2 separate regions of the Homo sapiens genome follow, and region 2 is linked to region 1. The links are contacts of gene promoters, found by promoter capture Hi-C in blood cells and fetal thymus (Javierre and others, 2016). All regions are on one chromosome and are shown on one strand. Each heading gives the region's core, a stretch centred on a gene start or on the middle of the fragment in contact. The rest is flanking DNA. Distances are from core to core; before and after follow the strand shown.

Region 1 (3,181 bases), core at 480-2,979:
CATCTCCATTAGACCAAATCCACTGGAGCAGATAATATATATACACATTGGTAAAGTGGAAAAGAACCAAGGAGTTAAAAGACCAAGCTTCTAATTGCAGTTCAACCACCTGTTACATATCTTCAGGAAAAAATCACAACCTCTCAACTTCAACTTCCTCTTCTATAAATTAGAAATAACAATAACCACACCTGTAACCCCAGCACTTTGGGAGGCCAAGGCAGGCAGATCAAGAGGTCAGGAGATTGAGACCATCCTGGCTAACATGATGAAACCCTGTCTCTACCAAAAAGACAAAAAATTAGCCAGGTATGGTGGCACACACCTGTAGCCCCAGCTACTCGGGAGGCTGAGGCAGGAGAATGGCGTGAACCCGGGAGGTGGAGCTTGCAGTGAGCCGAGATGGCGCCACTGCACTCCAGCCTGGGCGACAGAGCAAGCCTCCGTCTAAAAAAAAAAAAAGAAAGAAAGAAAGAAAGAAAGAAAAGAAATAATAATAACCACCATTCCTATCTCAACAGCTTGTTCTAGAAATTTTTAAAGCACAGTATCACAAACAGCACTACATAATTGTAAAACATGTATGAATATATACATCCAAACAACAGCAATGTCATAGCCTATGGGTAGATATAATCTTATACAATGTACCAAAATCCCAATTTACTTCACTAGACAAACTGTTATACCAAATTCTGTACACAGTATATCCAAGAAAATGTGTTGTTTTTATTGAGAAACTGAACCTAGCTTGGGAACACATGTGCACAGTCTAGTTCATAATATTTGGTGCAAGTATCATTCTCTAATATAGATTTACATTTTTGCAAGCAAATTTTTACTTGCAATCATAACATATCCAAATTTTCCCTTTTTACTCAATCAGAACTTAGTGTAAAGTACTACAAGTTAGTTCTTCGGATTTCATGCTAAGAAAATAATGCAGATTTTCTGCATTATTATGGTCTTCACAGAAACCTTAACTATGATGAATTTAAAAGTGCAAAATAATCCAGGATAACTTTATGATTTCAGATTTTTTAATGTTAAAAATAATGCCATCATTAATTAGAAAATTCTAAAATCATTACTTCCACTTTCTTAGGCAAAATATCAATATACTCTCATTTGCCAAATAAATTAAAAGATCTCCTACAAACACAATCTCCTAAATTGTGGTTTTATGGCTTTAATGTTTTATGTGTGGCAACTATTGATGCTAGTTAAATTTTTAGAAACTTTTTCTTTTTGATTCCCTACAGTTGTCTACAAGAACCTTATTGTAGCATGATCCTGCCAGACTTTATGCTATTTGTTGCTCCAATTAAAACTGTTTAAAACATGAATTTGAAAAATCTTATTTTAACTATAATTTTGTAGCTGAAACTTTTTTTTCTAAACTTTGCAAACATTCTATGCAACCTGAATTAGTGCTGAGAAAAATGGATCTTAACGGTTGCTCAATGTTCTTCAACAGGTGAAAAGCATAATAAAACATGCTCATCTGAACTCCACCCATTTTCAATTTCAACATAGCAAACCTCCTGTTTATTCTTAGGGCAAATTCAAAATTGTACATATTAGGATTGGTTATTACTGAAGATAATTTATGCAATCATAAGCCAAAGATGCTAAGTTGGCAAAAAGAAAACAATGTAAGTAAGCAAACTCTAACACATGTGGACACACCCTCTCAGTATATAAAGGCTTGTCACTGTCCTTGGTAGCAGGCACTCCCTGGGCTAAACAGCATCACCATGTCTGTTCGATACAGCTCAAGCAAGCACTACTCTTCCTCCCGCAGTGGAGGAGGAGGAGGAGGAGGAGGATGTGGAGGAGGAGGAGGAGTGTCATCCCTAAGAATTTCTAGCAGCAAAGGCTCCCTTGGTGGAGGATTTAGCTCAGGGGGGTTCAGTGGTGGCTCTTTTAGCCGTGGGAGCTCTGGTGGGGGCTGCTTTGGGGGCTCATCAGGTGGCTATGGAGGATTAGGAGGTTTTGGTGGAGGTAGCTTTCGTGGAAGCTATGGAAGTAGCAGCTTTGGTGGGAGTTATGGAGGCATCTTTGGAGGGGGCAGTTTCGGAGGTGGCAGCTTTGGTGGGGGCAGCTTTGGTGGAGGCGGCTTTGGTGGAGGCGGCTTTGGAGGAGGCTTTGGTGGTGGATTTGGAGGAGATGGTGGCCTTCTCTCTGGAAATGAAAAAGTAACCATGCAGAATCTGAATGACCGCCTGGCTTCCTACTTGGACAAAGTTCGGGCTCTGGAAGAATCAAACTATGAGCTGGAAGGCAAAATCAAGGAGTGGTATGAAAAGCATGGCAACTCACATCAGGGGGAGCCTCGTGACTACAGCAAATACTACAAAACCATCGATGACCTTAAAAATCAGGTAAGAGGTATTTTTAAATCCAGCTTTAAGTATCTTGTCCATGTAATCCAGACAGATGAATCTTAAATTAAGCACAATGTGGCTGTTCACTATGCTTACCCATGTTACTTTCTTCCTTCAAAAATAACCCAGTCTCATCAAAGATAAACATCTGTGAAACTATGGTCATGGCAATCTTCATCCAGCAAGTGTGCTACTTGTCTTAAGAGGATGGGAGATTTACTAAGCACTTTTGAGGTTTTAATGAGCATACAATGAGTCCACAGTTAAAATATGCTAGGCTATTTACAAATGTAGAAACTGAAAAAAAAAATCATGATATGAATCAGAACAAAATGTTATTCAGACTGATAACAAGCCATATTCAGTACCAACATGGCAAGAAAAATAAATTTTCCAGTATGAAAATGGGACACTGCTTGCCTCTAAGGAATTTCTGAATTGTACCTATTGTGTACCAGTTCAGAGTGTATTTATTTATTAGTATTTATCATGAGTTAAACAAATGCAGGTGTGAGTCAGCCAAAGCATGGCTGAAATACATGGAAATCACATAGTCTAAAAGAGGAGGGCACACTTACAGGAATACATCTATATAATTCCAGTTAGTTTTCAGAAAGGAATAATTCGTGTACAGAAATACAAGACTGGAGAAATTCCAAGAGAACAAATAATTCAAAGTTAAGTATATGGGTAAGCCTGCAATATTTCATATTTAAAATAAAAAATTTTCCCAAGATTTTGTAAGAGAACAACATAAAAGTGCAGAGTGCATCTATGTCACTACAAAAGCCATA
Region 2 (3,181 bases), core at 242-2,741, 500 kb before region 1:
TGGAAGGGTGTGCAGGAGTGAGGGTCCTCTGCTGCTCTCTGAGTCTGTCAGTGCTTGCAGGGAGGGGCGGGGGCTCCCCCAAATAGGCCTGGCTCTTCCAATGCCCTTGAGGGCCATTTGAGGGGGAGGGCAGGACAATGGAAAGTGGGAGGGGGTTTGTTGGAGGGTCTTGCCCACATCCCCCTCCTGTGTGCACAGCACTGAGTACCAGTACACACGCACTGAGCGCCTGCCCTGAGGACCGGTGGGCCTCCTGCACTTACTTAGCATCCAGGAGGAAGAGGAGGAAGAAAAGATGTAAGAGGAAGGCCCAGGTTTGGGGTCACAGGCACTCCCCCACTATTGACTGCCCCAGAAGGTGACTTGGTGGGGGGACTGGGTATTGGAGCCTTCCTGGGGGTGGCAGGTCCCCATGCTTCCTGGTAGTTTCCTTACAGAGCACAGAGGCCTGAAGGTGCCTAAGAACTGCATCACTGTCCAGGGCCCAGGTTTGGGGGAACTGGTCCTGAAAACGCGCCCACAGGCCAGACCTGGAAGCCTTCATGAGGTGCTCTAGGGACAGGGTGAGGATCAGGCCAGGAAAGTTCCCTGGGAGGCGTCAGAGCCGACACCCCATTGCCACCTCTGTCGTCTCCCACTGGGTGGTGCCGGATCATTTTGTGGCCACAACAGGGGTGCAGATGTGCACAGGAGGCTGTGGTTTGGGGGAGGCCTGGGCAGGGAAGTGCTTGCCACACTCCCGACTTTCATCTGGGTCACGTGCGGGATGGGCTCGGCATCACTGTGCCCTGCCCTGCTCACCAGGCCAGACCTTCTTCTGGGCTGGAGCAGAGAAACATGGGGACAGTGTGAGGAAGCTGCCCTTGGGCCAGTCGGGGTCTGACCCCAGAGCTTCCCAGGCCCCACTGGGCACACGTGGACTTACTCCTCTGAACCTTGAAGGCAGTGCGTGCCATTGGCATCAACACCTGTTCCTTTCTACCAAATACACCCTCCACAGGCTTAGGGTGAGCCCGAGAGAGATCTGTGGGGACACAGGTGTGGGAGGCCCTGGCTCGTCCAGGCTGGAGGCTGGTGGCTGGATCTGGGCCCACTGGGGCTTCAGTCCCCCAGAGTCAGTGACCCTCCCCATGAGGGTCATCTGACCCCTCCAGGAGGCTGGGTCTGGCTTCCCTGAGCCCTCCCAAGTTAGGTCCTGGGTCAGTCTATCCATGAGGCTGGGCCTGAGCCCTGGCCTCTGCTGGGGGATGACCCCTCTTGGGCAGAGGGCCTTGCTTGTGTGTCCTACAGGGACCTGCCTGAGCCTCCTGTGGGCTGGGGGTGAGCCAGACCCCTGGGCTGGGGAAGTAGAGCACTGCAGGGCAAGGAGGGTCCCTGAGCCACGGTCTCCCTGTGCCTCCTTATCCCATTGATCACCCTCTGTAGAAGCCAAGCTAATGAGGAACCTTGAGCACATAGCCCTTCCGTGTCCCGACAGGAGGAACAGAGGTGCTCAGGGCCCCCTAGCCTGCCCTAAAAACCTCCTTCTTCTAGGGCCCTCTGAAGACCCTTCCCCAAGTGCAGAGTACTGGGTGGTGTCCAGGGCTCCCCACAACACCTTCCCCCTTCCTGCATTCCCAGTGGACACACTGCCCTCAGCCCTGCTCTGCAGGAGCTGGGCCCCTGTCCCTGTGCCTCTGTCTCCTCCAGGGCAGGAAAGGAAACCCAACTCCCAGTACATGGAGAACCCCACGTCCCAGGTCAGGCCCTGGCTGGGACTCAGCCTCTCACCAGCCCCACGAGGGGCTCCAGCACCCCCGACTCCTCTGGCCCCATGGGATGCTGGGCCTCTAGGGAAGAGTCGAGGGGACCATAAACTCACCAAGTGCCTCATGGTCTTGGGGTGTGACGTGGGTACCACATGCTCCTGGTGGTCTTGGAGCCCCTGGACCCCTGTGCCATTTGGGCTGTGGAATCCTGAGAAGCCTCCAGCCCATCATGAAATCAGAGCCTGTTCCCAAGATGTGGAACTGTCGGCTGGAATTGCTGGGCAGCTGCAAAGGCCCATGAACACCGGGCCTCCCACCCTCCCACCTGGTGACCCCACCATGCGGCCTTGGCCCTGGGGAAGAGGGATGGGAACATCCTCTGGAGCCTGGCCGGAGGTGCTCCTGGAGGCCTCCTGGGCCCGGGTGCTAGGAAGGCAAGGCTGACTTTGAGGCCATGACAGAGGGCGGGAAGAACTGGGTGGGTGCTGGGTTTCGTGGTCGTCTCCTGGAAGTGGGGTCGGGCCAGGGTACATGGGAAGGGGAGATGCTGCCATCTGGGCTTCATCGACCCATCTGTGGGCACCAAGGGCAGCTGGAGCCTGGCCAGCAGGAGGGCAGGAGGACTCTCACGGAGGGGACAGTCAGTTGCACAGAATCAGAGCCAGAGGGTGTGGCTCCAGGCCACAGAGGGCAGCCACGGGGGGATAAGATGTCCTCTGTTGATGGAGATAAAAGGCGTCTCATTTGGGGCCTGGGGGTACCTGTGTAGCCCTGGGGGTATCCGTTCAGTCCTGGGCTTCTGTGGGGCCCTCAGCAGAGACATTCTAAAGGCTCCAGATAAGTTGGCGACACAGGAAGGTGCCTTCACTAAAAGTGGAGGTCACCTGGCCAGGGTGGCTGAGAAAAATCAGCCCGAGACGGGACAGGTGCCACCCAGGGTGGGTAGCCGGGCCCTGACAGGAGTCCCTCAGGGAGTGACCACATCACCCTGCTGAGGTTTAGGGATCCTGGCCTGAGACTTGCCTGGTGTACCCAGGGTGCATCCAGGGCCCATCCCACCCGACATTCCCAAGCCCTCACAGGGTCTGACCTCCCGGCATCCACCTGCCTCTCCCTGCACTCCAGCCACCCACCCTGCTTGTTCCCCAATTTCTGCCATCCTGTCAACCCAGAGATGGTGAATGTTTCCCCAGCCACCCTGGCCCTTCTTTGATCCTTGTCCTGTCAGAACCCCCGAGTGATACTCCCCAGATCTGTTCACATGCCTGCCTTGTCTGCTCTCTCATTGGGCTGCCGATGGCTGCTGGGGAGATGCCAAGGGTGACATGGGTGACCGAGGACCCCACAGATGGCCAGGATGGCTTCCCTGCCCCACCTCCAGCCTCACCTGGCTCTTGGAGCCCTTGGCTGTCAGCCCTCAGCCTCCTCCCAGA

The links. Contacts are between HindIII fragments. The CHiCAGO score rates a contact against its expected background, and 5 or more counts as called.
Region 2: a fragment that was not itself captured here is called in contact with the fragment with the promoter of KRT10 in region 1 in 2 of 17 cell types (M0 macrophages and M1 macrophages); the score reaches 5.8 in M0 macrophages.

What each region holds. Positions count from the first base shown.
Region 1 is chr17:40,821,162-40,824,342 of GRCh38, reverse strand. It overlaps KRT10 (keratin 10), which reads left to right and starts at 1,729. Exons shown (of 8, transcript NM_000421.5): 1 at 1,729-2,384. The coding sequence starts at 1,758. The region is part of intron 1 of KRT10-AS1 (KRT10 antisense RNA 1); the gene reads right to left. The HindIII fragment of the contact is 8,212 bases long and covers 90-3,181 here.
Region 2 is chr17:41,324,473-41,327,653 of GRCh38, reverse strand. It overlaps the pseudogene TBC1D3P7. Among named protein-coding and RNA genes, the nearest start is that of KRTAP17-1, 10 kb to the right of the region's middle. The HindIII fragment of the contact is 7,062 bases long and covers 1-3,181 here.